Linked DNA regions of Homo sapiens: all the other regions are linked to region 2. The links are contacts of gene promoters, found by promoter capture Hi-C in blood cells and fetal thymus (Javierre and others, 2016). All regions are on one chromosome and are shown on one strand. Each heading gives the region's core, a stretch centred on a gene start or on the middle of the fragment in contact. The rest is flanking DNA. Distances are from core to core; before and after follow the strand shown. Region 1 has its middle 58 kb from the start of CLDN10-AS1. Region 2 holds the start of SOX21 (SRY-box transcription factor 21). Region 3 has its middle 110 kb from the start of ABCC4.

Evidence for each region. The method cuts DNA at HindIII sites, captures the fragments that hold promoters and counts their contacts. A CHiCAGO score of 5 or more calls a contact.
Region 1: a fragment that was not itself captured here is called in contact with the fragment with the promoter of SOX21 in region 2 in 1 of 17 cell types (erythroblasts); the score reaches 7.2 in erythroblasts.
Region 3: a contact is called between a fragment that was not itself captured here and the fragment with the promoter of SOX21 in region 2, in 3 of 17 cell types (erythroblasts, endothelial precursors and total CD8 T cells). The highest score is 6.4, in erythroblasts.

Annotation. Positions count from the first base shown.
Region 1 is chr13:95,473,341-95,478,077 of GRCh38, forward strand. It overlaps a transcript of CLDN10 not described here. Among named protein-coding and RNA genes, the nearest start is that of CLDN10-AS1, 58 kb to the right of the region's middle. The HindIII fragment of the contact is 4,663 bases long and covers 1,041-4,737 here.
Region 2 is chr13:94,709,937-94,714,852 of GRCh38, forward strand. It overlaps SOX21 (SRY-box transcription factor 21), which reads right to left and starts at 2,609. Exons shown (of 1, transcript NM_007084.4): 1 at 1-2,609. The coding sequence starts at 2,113. The coding sequence ends at 1,283. It overlaps SOX21-AS1 (SOX21 antisense RNA 1), which reads left to right and starts at 2,780. Exons shown (of 2, transcript NR_046514.1): 1 at 2,780-3,457; 2 at 3,702-4,916. LOC112268114 (a long non-coding RNA gene) reads right to left here and starts at 3,507. Exons shown (of 2, transcript NR_158368.1): 1 at 3,472-3,507; 2 at 2,784-3,326. RefSeq lists an enhancer at 3,333-3,834. The HindIII fragment of the contact is 9,809 bases long and covers 1-4,708 here.
Region 3 is chr13:95,407,637-95,412,088 of GRCh38, forward strand. No RefSeq gene overlaps it. Among named protein-coding and RNA genes, the nearest start is that of ABCC4, 110 kb to the left of the region's middle. The HindIII fragment of the contact is 1,085 bases long and covers 2,371-3,455 here.

The DNA of each region.
Region 1 (4,737 bases), core at 2,122-4,621, 760 kb after region 2:
TAACAAACCTACACATCCTGCACATGTACCCCAGAACTAAAAATTAAAATTAAAAAAGAAATAACATGGTCTAACAAGGGCTGAGGAAGAGATGCGCCTCGGGTGCCTCAGGCAGCCTGCATGCCAAGTGATGAGGATGGGGGGCCAGGGAACAGCTCCGCCCTCGGCCGCTCACCACCCCAGGATCCTTCAGTCTAGGCTGAGTAGTAATAGCAAATCCCATTCACATCATATTTCATTAGGCTCTCACGTGCCTTATTCAGCTGACCTCTAATGAGAGCATGCATGAGAATCACCCAGAAGGGCTACGGGAACCGAGGGCTGAGGACCGGGTGCCGTCCCCAGAGCTCTGACTCGGCAGGTCAGGGCGGGACTGAGAATTGCATTTCTCACAGGTTCCTGGGCCCTGCTATGCTGCTGGTTCAGGGACCACATCTGGAGAATCACCGGTGAACTCATTTCACAGAAAACCTTCAAAGGCCAGCTCTGCCGCCAGGCTGTTAAGCTTCGGAGGGAACAAACCCCTGCCCTGAAGGGGCTCGCCCACAGTGAAGGAAACAGAAATAAAAAATAAAGTATTAGAATGTAATGCAATAGAACAGCGGTCCCCAACCTTTTTGGCACCAGGGACCGGTTTCGTGGAAGACAGTTTTTCCACGGACGGGGGTCGCAGGGTAGTTTCAGGATGATTCAAATGCATTATATTTATTGTGCAGGTTATTTGTATTATGATTACATTGCAATATATAATGAAATAATTATACAACTCACCATAACGTAGAATCAGTGGGAGCCCTGAGCTTGTTTTACTGAAACTAGACGGTCCCATCTGGGGGTGATGGGAGACAGTGACAGATCATCAAGAGTGACAGATCATCAGGCATTAGATTCTGATAAGGAGGAGGGAACCCAGATCCCTCGTATGTGCAGTTTGCAATAGGGTTCGTGCTCCTATGAGAATCTAATGCCCAGCTGATCTGACAGGAGGCGGAGCTCAGGTGGTGATGTGAGCCATGGGGAGCAGCTGCAGATACAGATGAAGCTTCACTCACCTGCCTGCCACTCACCTCCTGCTGTACGGCCTAGTTCCTAACAGGCCACAGACTGGTACCAGCCCATGGCCCAGGGGTTGGGGACCCCTGCAATAAAACAAAGTCTCAAATGGAGGTTAGAGGAGGCTGCTATGAGCACAGAGCGGAGAAATAGGCCCACCTCAGTCAGGGAAGATAAGAACAGGTTAGCCACGGCTTCTAGCAGGGAAGAGAGTAAGAGAACAAATCCAAGAAGAAGCTGTGTATTCAGAAACAGCAGGGAGGCCTGCAAGGGCAATGGCCCTGTCTCAGTGAAACTGGGGAGGAAACCCATATGTAGAAACGGATGGGGAGAAGAGAATGGAAAAGGCAAGTAGAGATTGATAAGTGCTCCAAGGAGGAGAGAGACCTGGTAAGATCTGCCTTTTGGGAAGCTCATTCCAGGGGGTAGGGTGGAGGAAGATGGGGGTGGGGCAGGCGTGGAGCCAGGCTGGAGGAGGCTGTTCTGTGCTGCAGGTGCCAGAGGGAGGCTTGAGCCCAGAAGAGGCGGTGGGTGGAGGGCCTGAGCCTAATGGGATCTCAGGGATCTGCCAGTATACGTCTCACATCTTGGTGGAGAGGAGGGTTCAAAACTTGCAGGTCTCTTGTGTTTTGGCTTCACAGACAGAGTGAATTGGCTCCTCTCTGCTAAGGAGTCAAGGACACACATGCTGGTGCCACACAGAGGAGGAAACCTATAAGCCAGGAAGTAGGAGCACACACCCAGTGCTGTCCCACAACTCGGATCAGAGGATCAGACGGCAGCAGCTCCCTGCCAGGGATTAAGAGCCCACCCCTGCCCCCTGCTGCCTGCTCCCTTGCACTCTACATATTTGTAGGGATGGGGTCAGGGGACATCCCTGTGATTATGGAAGCTCCCTGGTTGGGAGAAATAACCTTGGTTCAAAAGGGGAGCACCTGGTCCCCAGAGACTGTAACCAGCCCGGCCTCCTGGGGACCTGGGCAGATCTGCTGAGCCTGATCTCCGCTAAGTTCAAGAGAGGGGAGATGAGGCTCTGCAACCACCATCAGATGCCCCAGCCAATTCTCGGAGACAGAGAGAGCCAGGAGTTTTGCCAGCCCACCTCAGCTGTGCTGACTGAGCACTGGCCACCAGTGGGCTTCTCTGCTGCTCCCCAAGGGAGGGAAGTGGCCAGCAGGGTTTGAAAGAGTTTCAGTGCTGTTTGCCCCAATGGCCTCTGGGCCCCTGGTGAGGGTGACTGGCTTGGAGCTCCAGGAAGGTGGCAAGGGCTCCATTCCCACCTCATCCTCCAGCTGCCTTTCTCTGGGTGGCGTCTCAGTGAAGCCAGCCTGGGGTCTATCCTCATGTGCTCTCATGATCCCAAGCCCACCTGCATGGGTCGAGGGTCCCTGCATCTCTCTCTCTCTCTCTGTCTCTCTCTGTCCCTCTCTCTCCCTCTTTCCCTCTCTCTCTCTCTCTCCCTCACCCTCTCTCCCTGTCGGGACTTGAGCACCATGGCTCTGCTGTGATGAGCACCATGGCTCTGCTGTGATGTGACTTATGATTGATGCTGCCCCTGAGCGTGCTGGGTGGTCTTCTATGCTTGTCACAAATCTCTGCCATCTAATTCCACCCCCATCGCCCAGATTGCTTCCTTCCGTGTGCCACTCCCCTTCTGGGCACTTGTGGTGATAGGACATATGAGGGGAGGAGCTGGTTTGGGAGGCGCAAAGGCATGATAAACTCGATTTTGAATGTGTCAAATATGACTTACAGGCAGGTTGACAGGATAGAGATGGATTGTCGGCATTTGGTTAGACGTGTGTGGAGCTCAAGAGGGGAGCCTGAGCTGGTGTCTTAGTCTGTTCAGGCTGCTATAACAAAATGCCTTAGATCGGGTAACTCATAGACAACAGAAATGTATTTCCCACGGTTCTGGAGGGTGGGAAGTAAGTCCAAGGTCAAGGTGCTGATGGATTTGGTGTCCGGTGAGGGCTGCTTTCTGATTCACAGGTGAGTCTTCTCTCTGTGTCCTCACGTGGTGGCAGAAGTGAGGCAGCTCTCCGGAGCCTTCTGTATAAGGGCACTAATCCCATTAATGGGGGCTCCACCCTCAAGATCTAATCACCTCCCGAAGGCCCCACCTCCCAACGCCATCACCTTGGGCATTTGGATTTCAACGTGTGAATTTTGGAGGGACACAGATATTCAGACCATAGCAGCTGTGGGTGAAGATTCAAAGACTCAGAAACAGATGGGACCTCCCAGGCAGTGTGTGAAGGGCAAGGCTGGAACCCTGAACACCAGTGACAAGTAGGAGATGGAGAGAGAAAGGAGGATGCTACCATGTGGATGAAAAGGGGCTTTAACACATATTGCTCAGGTGGCCTCACTATGAAATAACAGGACAGATGAAGTCACTGAGTCTCGGGGGCACCTTCACAATCTCTCACAGCTGTTAGTGGCAGAGCCAGGTCTCCAAGTTCAGAATTTTTCTCCCTACATTTGTTCACTTATTCATTCAACAGTCACTGATTGTGCTCTTTTCTGTGTGTGTACAGGGTCTTGTGTTCATACCATGAGCAGCATAGCAGGGACCCAAGCAAGACTGGGAGGAGAGGCGGGATGCAGACAAGTTGGGAACCAGCCACGCCTCTCCTCCTAGCAGGGGAGTTGCTCTAATAGGTTTTAATTTTATTCAGCTTTGGTGAGGCCAATAGATCAGATGATGACTCTCACTGAAGAGAGAGTTTCTTACTCTCAGATCTAAGAGAAGTGGGCACGCCACGCCATGCAGGGACACCCGGGGCAGCACGAGGGCTGGTCAAGAGGCAGAGGGAGAAGAGAACGTGGCCAGAGCCCTTATTATGGTTTCCACAGGAAAGAGTGGGCAAGGCAGGGTTAGCTAGCTCAGGACTGGCTAGTTTAAATCATTTCAGCAGGCTCTGGGGCATACAGGCTGTTCCTATTTGTCAGATACCTGGTCCTGGGTGATTAGGGCAGGGGGATAGTGGCCTGGAGTGTGAGAGCCAGATAAGGGAATTGGTTGGGATGCGAGCTCTGGGTTGGTTTTCATTTGAAAAGCATATCACCCGGAGGACTCCTTCCAGGGGGAGGGGGACAGTGAGGGAGACATATTATTGGGTTGCACAGAGCAAGGTGTGTCCTGCAGATGCACGCGGGGCAGATGTTAAAGCATCAGGTTTACAGAAAGGAGAAACATGGTTAATACAGAAGCAGAAAAGGAATGCAAAACAGAGAACAACTGCAAAGGTGCACATGCGGAAACACAGGTTGATGTCCTGCCAACCCTACTGTGGATGGTCTGTGGACCAGCAGCACCTGGGACTTAGAGAGGCAGCGTCTCAACCCCTCACCCCAGACTGAACGAATCTGAATCTGCAACACCCTCAGGTAACCCATATGTATCTTAAGCCATGATAAGTACTGGCATCAGCTGCAGACAGGCCCGTGGACAGATGGAGGAGGAGGAGGAAAACGTGTGGTTCGTTAGGGAGGCTTCTTGGAGGAGTCCTCTAACAATGAAAGCCAGCTTTCATGTGAAAAGAAATGAGATCTTTTGCCTAAAACAGTGGTTCTCAAAATTGGCTGCAAATTGGAATCACCTGTTGTGTTTTAAAAAGCTCTGGAGGCCAGGCACAGTGGCTCATGCCTATAATTCCAGCACTTTGGGAGGCTGAGGCT
Region 2 (4,916 bases), core at 1,359-3,858:
AATTTGCAAATGAATTGCAGGTGATCTAAAAAATAAGCCAATTGAGGAGGGAAATCCAAAACACATTAAACCAGCTCAACTTGGGAGAGAAATGCTAGCTGAAAATGAGAGACATCTGTTGAAACAATTCTGTGCTTTTTTTCTTCAGTTTTGCTAAATAATAAATATATAATTACCAGACAAAAAAGTCTGATTTAATCTTCGATAAAATTGCGATTCTGAAATAGTTTCGCAATTTTTAAAAGTTAACTTTGATATTCGCTCAAAATGTTTTTGAGTCTAAAGTCGACTCAAACTTAGGGCAACGAAAATAACACATTTTCCAAGCCTCAATGTTTTCACTGACATATACACATTTACAATCTTAAGGTGAACTCAGCCATAAGGGAAAATAGGAGCAGTGCCTTTTTCCTTTTTTGTAAACTGTGTCAGAAATCCAAGCGAGTGGACTCAGGGAGACTTCTAGTAGTTTGTTGTTGTTGTTTGTTTAGGAAGAAAATCCAATTGACAACTTTCATCTCACAAATATTTCTTGTTTGCGTTTCTTGCCCTTGAGAAAGAGCTCTTGCTCTGATTTGCAAATGGCGTGATAAACAAAAGAAACCGTGATCATCTCACACAAAAGGCCAGATTCGAGCCGGTCACTGGTCAAGAATGGATCTGGTTGGGAGTTCTGCTTGAGAGAACAGAGATCTGCAAAGTTCAAATAGTACAAACAGGGAGGCGAGGCTGCTCAGAGCCATCCCACTCCCAGAAACGAATGACACAAGCAGCTTTTCCCGTGTGCCAGCCATTTCAGACCTCACATTTGAACAGCGTGCATGCAACACGGACCGGGAGGGGGTTGGGGGTTGGGGGGCTGAGGGGCGAGGAAGAAGAATGAGAAACAAAAACAAAACCGACCATGAAACTTCCAACAAAACTGGAAAGGCCAACATGTCAAAAAGTTACTCCTCCACCTCCGTGGGTCAAAACGCAACAGGTTCCGAAGTGCAAAGCAAACGCCAACTGCTGCCGCACACAACCGCCTGCTTTCGAGTTGGCTGCCGAAGTGCGGGTCTGAAATGATCCTGCGAATTCACAGGCCTGCTCGCCCGCGCCCTTGCGCGCTTGGCCACTCCTGCCCCGCCTGGCCTCTCTGCCTCTACCTGGCACCTATACATTCTATGTACATACAAACCGGGCCCCCGGTCGCGGGAGGGCGCACGGGGAGGCCGCAGCGCTCGTACCTATACATATGTACACGTGTGCACACCGGTCCTCGCGAGGCGGCCCCGCGGGGTCATAGCGCGGCAGCGTAGGCCGCGGGGTAGGGGTCCAGCTGGGGCTTGCCCATGCCCGGCAGCAGGATGTAGGCGAGCGGCGGCTGCAGCCCGGGGCTGGGCCACGCGCTGCAGTTGCACGGGATCATGTAGCCCGGGTTGCCCGGGCTGGGGTGCGAGTGCGTGTGCCCCCCGGCGGCGGCGGCCGCCGCTGCAGCCGCCGCCGCCGCGCCGTGGAAGGCGCCCGCGCCCGCGGTCGGGTAGCCCAGCGACGACGCGTACGGGAGGCCGGACGAGGACGACGAGATCTCTGCCATTTTGGAGCCCAGGTCGAGCAGCGAGTAGGGGCTGCCCGCGGCGGCGGCGGCGGCGGCAGCGGCGGCGGCAGCGGCCGACTGCGGGAAGAAGACGCGTGCGGCGGCAGCGGCGGCGGCCGCGGCCGCCTTCTCGGGATTGGCGAGCAGCGACTCAGGCACCAGGCCGCCGCCCGCCCCCGCGTGCAGCCCGGCGCCCGCCTTGAGCGCAGGGTGCTCGGCGTCCGCCACGCCGCCCAGGCCGTAGGGCACCGGGAAGGCGAACTTGTCCTTCTTGAGCAGCGTCTTGGGCTTGCGCCGCGGCCGGTACTTGTAGTCGGGGTGCTCCTTCATGTGCATGGCGCGTAGACGCTTGGCCTCGTCGATGAACGGCCGCTTCTCCGACTCTGTGAGCAGTTTCCACTCGGCGCCCAAGCGCTTGCTGATCTCCGAGTTGTGCATCTTGGGGTTCTCCTGGGCCATCTTGCGCCGCTGAGCCCGCGACCACACCATGAAGGCGTTCATGGGCCGCTTGACGTGGTCCACCGGCTTGGACATGCTCTCGCCCTGCCGCGGCTGCAGCCCGCCGCCTCCCGGGCCCTCGCCCTCGGCCCGGAGGAAATCAATGTTGGCTGCCCGCGGAGACCCGCTCGGCCGGCCGGGGCTCGTCGCGCCCCGGCGTCGCTCCCGCCCCGGAGGAGGGGGCTGGGGGACCAGCCCAGGGCCACGCCGCGCCCCGGGCCGCCTTAGTGTCTCCGGCCGAGCGCTCGAGCAGGTTGTCTCTGGGACACTCTAACTTCTCGGCGGTGCCCCCTCCCCGCGGCGGCAGTTTGCCCTTTACGTTCTTTGGGTCCTTCGTCTGCAGTGGCGTTTGCTGGTGAGCTCCCCGCAGGTAGCGGCGGCCGGGCAGAGCGCTCCTCCTCCTCGGTCGTTCTCTCTTAAATGCAAAGCGTCCCCAAAAGTTGCGTCGCGGAGACTCCTCGAAGTTGAGCCGAGGAGCCCGCCGCCGCGTGCTGCCAAGTGCCAAAGGGGGCTCTCAGCGGCTGGAGTGTTTGGGTTCTCCTCGGTGACTTTCTCATTTGACAGAAGCAGATGGGGGTGGGGAAGGCGGGGAGGTGGCCCTGGAGGAGGAAGAGGAGGGGGAGGCGGAGGAGTGTCCAGGCGTGCCACGAGAACGCAGAGCGCAGCAATGGATATAAATACAAATACAGCAGCACCAGCCTGTCTTCTTGGCTCCGGGCAGGGTGCGCCGATGGGAAACCCCCAATCGGCTGGGTGATTTTTTTTTTTTGGAGGGGGGAGCTGTCCCCCGCAGCACCTGCCTCTCGAGTCTTCCTCTCCCGCTGCTGGACTGACGGGTGGGGCGAGGAAGGAGGGTGGATGAGGCTTGAGCAAGCGTTGGTCGCCCGGCCTCAGAGGAAGTTCTCCCGGCTCGCCGAGGAGCCGCGTCCGGCCGTCCCCTGGGCCATGCCGGCTCTGTTCGCTCCGAGCCCCTTCAGGCGCGCCTGCCGACTTAGGGCTCCCGGAGCTCGCCGGCCGCGGAGGGCAGCGCAGCCTCCACGCGGCGCCGCAGGCCTGGCACCGGCCGCGTCCCCGCCTCGCTCTTCTCGGCAGCCGCCTGGCACTTGCAACTAACTTCGCCCAAGTTTCCTGCGCCGCGGCGCCCCTCTCGGCGCGCTCCTGGGAGCGTGCGCCCGCGAGTCCGCCGCGCCCGGGGCCCCTCTGTCCTCGCTGCTGTGGCCAGAGCCGAGCCGGCGCAGGGGCGGAGGTGCTGCAGGAGAGTTAAGGAAAACGGGCCATCACCTCAGTTCGCAGGTCCGCGCTGTGGCACCTCCCGCTCTCCCCACTCCCGCGGCGCAGGGGGCCCCTTCCCAGCCCAGGCCGCCCTCTGCACCGGCTCAGGTGAGTGTGGCTACCTGCATGTGTGCGCGCCCGGAGCCGGCACTGGGTGTGCATGTCCAGCCGCGGCTGTGTGTGTATATCTGGGGGCCTGCGGAGGAGGTGGAGCCCAGGACTCGGGGAGGGAGGAGGGATCAGCGGAGCCGCCTCCCGCTCCCACACCCCCAGGACCTCGAATTAACAGATCCCCTCCGCCCCCCGCCCCCTCCCAATCCTCCTCCTCCCACTCCTTTTCACTTGAGAGCAGGTTTAGGCGAGTGGAGAGTCCGGAGCGCGCCGGGGAGTCTGCGCCCTGTTTGGCGTTGGCAAACCCTGGTGTCATCCCGGCTACCCAGGCCGGCCTGGCGTGCAGCTGCCCTGGTTGTGGCCCTGGAATCCTCGCCGGGAGGAAGAAGGCGGCGGGCACGAGTAGGAGAGCCTCTCCAGCTACGGAGGAAGAGGGTTAAACCTGGAGAAGGGGAGACTCACCCTTGAAAATGTTTGAGACTGTTCCTAGCAAGAAAGTGCTCATTTTCCTTGGAGGTCCAGGTGTTGCTTGCAACAGAAACAGAGGCTTCTCGCATTTTCTTGCACTGGCGATGCACCTAGTCAGAGGTAGTGGAGTGAAAAATAACTCTGGAGGGAATAAGGACATTCTTGGCAACCTTTCCAAAAAAGAGCTAGCCCAGACTGAGAGTATGCATCCTTGACTGACTATTCAGCTCTTTAAAAATTCTGTGTTGTTTGTCTTTTGTTGTAATCTTGGTCGCCAGAACCATCTATATACTGATCTCTTTAAGGTACAGTTAACTTACAGTGTCTCACTTACATGCGCTGCTGAGGTGAAGGTGTTTAAAATCAATAAGTGTAAGTAGTTTCCCTGGAAGAGAGAAGTAAAACGTACCAATCACTCAGTGCTGGAATATTTTTATGCTAAGCATAATTTCCTTCTTTAGTAGTTAGAGCAGTTTTTTAAAAAAAATAGTTAACACGATGCAGAAGTCAAACAGCATGATTCTGTTTCCGTATTTTCCTCACTTTTTGGTATGCTGCGGCACATTTAGAACATGATCTGTCTGGAGGTTTTATTCACATGGTGGCCTGCCCTTCAGGGAGAACTTGCTTGCCTTCTTTCTTTGGCAGTTTGGATTTGACCTAGCCCTGTGGTATGTGCAAGTAGGAACATCTACAAACGGTTAACTCTTTAAGTCTTCCTACGATTTATGTTCAGTTCATTCACACACACACACACACACACACACACACACACACAAAAGCTTTGATTGTAATTATGAACGTGAATTAAAACTGTTTCAGGCCATCAGATTTATGTAAAAGTTAGGCTTGTTTTGTTCATTTTAATAAAAGAATAGTGACTTAAAAATTACAGTCGTGATAACAAAACTGTGAACAGCAGTGGCATCTATGTGGGTTTTTGTTTTTCTGAAGATGTCGTATTGACAAGCTTATTTTGTATCGGTTA
Region 3 (4,452 bases), core at 1,663-4,162, 700 kb after region 2:
ATTGGCTTCCTGGTGGCATCTCTGATTTACTAGCCAGGCTGCGCATGGTGGCTCACACCTTTAATCCCAGCACTTTGGGAGGCCGAGGCGGGTGGATCACCTGAAGTCAGGAGTTCAAGACCAGCCTGGCCAATATGGTGAAACCCCATCTCTACTAAAAATACAAAAATTAGCCAGGTGTGTAATCCCAACTACTCGGGAGGCTGAGGCAGGAGAATTGCTTGAACCCAGGAGACAGAGGTTGCAGTGAGCAGAGATCGCATCAGTGCACTCCAGCCTGGGTGACAGAGTGAGACTGTCTCAAAAAAAACAAAAACAAAAAAAAAAGCCAGGCATGGTGGCAGGCACGTGTAGTCCCAGCTACTCGGGAGGCTGAGGTGGGAGGATTGCTTGAACCTGGGAGGCAGAGGTTGCAGTGAGCCAAGATCATGCCACTGCACTCCAGCCTGGGTGACAGAGCGAGACCCTGTCTCAAATTAAAAATAAATAAATAAATAAACAAAAGCAAATCAGGCCCAGTTTGAAGGTAGAGATGGGGTCATTTATATGGATGCAACTACTGGCCATTGATTGTATGCCAAGCACTGTGCTTGCTTTCCATATTTTTTTCTAGGTTTTTGTTTTTGTTTTTGTTTTTTGGTCTGTCGCCTGGCATGGAGTGCAGTGACACCAGTGCGACTCACTGCAGCCTTGACCTCCCGAACTCAATTGATCCTCCCACCTCAGCCTCCCATAGCTGGGACTACAGGCTCACACTACTATGCTCAGCTAATTTTTTAAATTAATTATTGTTTTTTTAAATTAATTATTATTTGTAGGGATGGGGGTCTCTCTATGTTGCACCTGGCCAAGACATCATTCTAACTGAACTACGCAAGTCACAAAAGGACAAATACTGTATGATTCTGTTCAAGTGAGATGCCTAGAATAGTCAGATTTATAGAGCCAAAAAGTAGCATGGTGGTTGTCAGGGGTTGGGGATAGGAGAAATAGGGAGTTATGGTTTAATAGGTACAGAGTTTCAGTTTGGAAAGATGAAAAAAACCCTATAGATGAATAGTGGTGATGGTTGCACAACAATGAGAACGTGTTTAATGATACTGAATTAATAAGATAAAAATGGTTAAAATGAGGCCAGGCATGGTGGCTTAGACCTGTAATCTCAGCACTTTGGGAGGTCAATGCAGGAGGATCACTTGAGTCTAGAGGTTCAAGACCAGCCTGGGCAACATGGCCAAACCCTGTCTCTACAAAAAATACAAAAATTAGCAAGGTGTGGTTGCACACATCTGTAGTCTCAGCTACTCGGGAGGCTGAGGTGGGAGGATGACCTGAGCCTGGGGAGGTCGAGGCTGCAGGACAACAAACCAAGACCCTGTCTCAATAATAAATTTTATGTTATGTATATTTTACCATAATTCTTTTTTTATTTTTAGTCTTGCTCTGTCATCCAGGCTGGAGTGCAGTGACATGATCTCGGCTCACTGCAAACTCCACCTCTCAGGTTCAAGCGATTCTCCTACTTCAGACTCCTGAGTAGCTGGGATTATAGTCATGCACAACCACGCCTGGCTAACTTTTGTATTTTTAGTAGAGATGGGGTTTCACCATGTTGGCCAGACTGGTCAGACTGGTCTTGAACTCCCGACCTCAAGTGATCCTCCTGCCTCGGCCTCCCAAAGTGCTGGGATTACAGATGTGAGCCACTGCGCCCAGCACCCCTCCTTTTTATTTTGAGACAGAGTCTCGCTGTGTCTCCCAGGCTGAAGTGCAGTGGCAGGAACACAGGTCACTGCAGCCTCAACCTCCTGGGCTCAAGCAATCCTCCTACCTCAGTCTCCCATATAGCTGGGAGTACAGGTATGCACCACCACACCCAGTTAATTTTTTGATTTTTTTTTTTTTTTTTTTTTTGTAGAGACTTGGTCTCACTTTGTTGCCCAGGCTGGTCTCAAACTCCTGGGCTCAATTGATCTTCCTGCCTCAGCCTCCCAAAGTGCTGAGATTACAGGCCTGAGCCACTGCACCTGGCCCACAATATGTATTTTTTAAAGTTTAAAATAAGTAACTTCGTCTTAGATAGCACCTGCTGAAAAGTTTCTGGCCAACACAGCTTTTCCTGGCTCCAAAGCTCCTATCTGTTCTTTGTCACCACAATACCTCACTCCTTAAAGGCAACGTCTGTCCTAGGCCCCACTCATAGAAGCAGAGGGTGGACAGGGCTGTACCCGTCGTTTCCTCTTCTTCACCCGAGCATCCCCAGCCTCTTGCTCATAGTCCATTGCTGTAGGTGTTTTGACAATGGGGCCAGCCTCAAATGGCAACTCGACTCCATATAAAATATAATTATGTTTTTTAAATTTTAGGTCAAGCTTTGAATCATTGCAAAATAATCAAGAAAAGGCAGTGGTGGCACAAAATGATGATATAGTTATGAAATTGTCATCTGAAATCTGTCTAGAATGTATTGAAATCCATATTAATTTGGAAAGACGTGGAGAGAGGATGAGGTTTTGACATGTCATCTGGAGTTGAGGAATCACTTTGGAAGGAGCTGTTGAGGGCTACAAAATATTGAACTAGCATAAATATTTGCTTTGAATGATCTTTCATCTTCCTAAAGACGTCAGGAAGTTTCTCAAGGGAAGTTAAGGTGGTTTGCTATAGGCTAGCAACCCGACCTCGATCCATGCCATAATTCACATGGCTTCTCCTTCTGCTCAGGGAGGTGTAGATGCCACAGATGATTCTGGAGTAATCTCTGTATGTTTAGATCCTATTGGGGTGAGTTGGGGAGTCAGTCTGAAGTGAGATCCAATAATATGTCAACCAATAACAAGAGAGGATTCTGGAAAGGAGGTCTGGAATGTGTTTAAAAATAAAAGTTAAGCCTACATCCATACAGAGAAACAAGAAGATAGATGCTTGGGTGAGATAACTAACCATCTAGCCTGGGCACAGTGGCTCACACCTGTAATCCCAGCACTTTGGGAGGCCGAGGCTGGTGGATCACTTGAGCCCGGAGGGTCAAGACCAGCCTGGGCCACATGGCAAACCCTGTCTCTATAAAAAGTACAAAAATTAGCCGGGTGTGGTGGTGCATGCCTGTAGTCCCAGCTACTCAGGAGGCTGAGGTGGGAGGATGGCTTGAGTCCAGGAGGTTGAGGCTGCAGTGAGCCATGATGACACCACTGCACTCCAGCCTGGGTGACAGAGCAAGACCTTGTCAAAACAAAACAAAACGACAATATCAAAAAACAATCTAGAGGTGATGGTCAAAGGGTATGAAGTTTTAATTATGCAAGATAAATAAATTCTGGAGATCTCTATACACATAGTGCATATAGCTAACAATTCTGTATTGTATACTTAAAATTCTCTGAGAGGGTAGGTCTCATATTAAATACTCTTACCACACATACACACAAATAATAATTATAATAGGAGTGGAAGGAAGCTTTGGGAGGTGACAAATATGTTTATGGCCTTGATGGTGATGGTTTCATGGGTGTATACTTATCCCCAAGCTCATTGGCTTGTATATGTTAAATATGCACCGCTTTTTACGTGTCAGTCATACAACAATAAAGTGGTTTAAACATTTTGTTTTTAAAGAGAACAATTTGGAATTAGACATGGAATATGAAAACAAATGCATGAATACAAATTTGCAGGCCATTAATGAGAATTGAGTAAACTAGCTCTCTGAGTGGAAACAGCTGAAATTCTCCTAGTAAGCATGTTATCCACACCCAGTAATGTTGTATGTTACGTTTTACTCTCTTGTGTGGTGTTATATTTTACAATAAAGAGAAGAAAAAGTGCACTGTCTGAGCATAAGGTGGGGGGAGGACGTGTCTATCATTGCTTCATGTCGTCGTCCCTGCTGTGTGTGATCTTCACCATGTTGCAGTTCATTTGGGAGCTGAAGACAAAGGCTAGTTGCTGTTTTAATGTTCTGCCGTCTCTGAAGTTGCAGGATGGTTATGTTAATGCTGTGGTTTGAAAATGGAAGCCTGAGATGGCAGCAAAATTCCTGGCTCCCACCCGCCCTTCTGGGGATGCACAGGAAGAATATCCCACAAGGATCTCCATCCTGCACATTCCAGGGCAGATCTGGGCAATATCAAACAAGAGAACCAGCCGAGCTCACACTTGTCTGGACCCAGTGAAAGCTCTTGCCCGACTTTATAGCAAACAAGAGTGCTTAGAATAATTGCTCCTAATTTTGTTTGTTTATTTATAAGTAGAAAGGCATGAGTCTTTCTATCCTGGGTAAAAGCCAAATCAAGCAATTTGATTCATTATTCATGGTGCCACTGACCAACTTGAAATTAAGAAATAAGAGCTGGATGAAAGCCAGGCACAGTGGCTCATGCCTGTAATCCCAGCACTTTAGGAGGCCAAGGTGGGCAGATTGCCTGAGTTTAGGAGTTCGAGACCAGCCTGGGC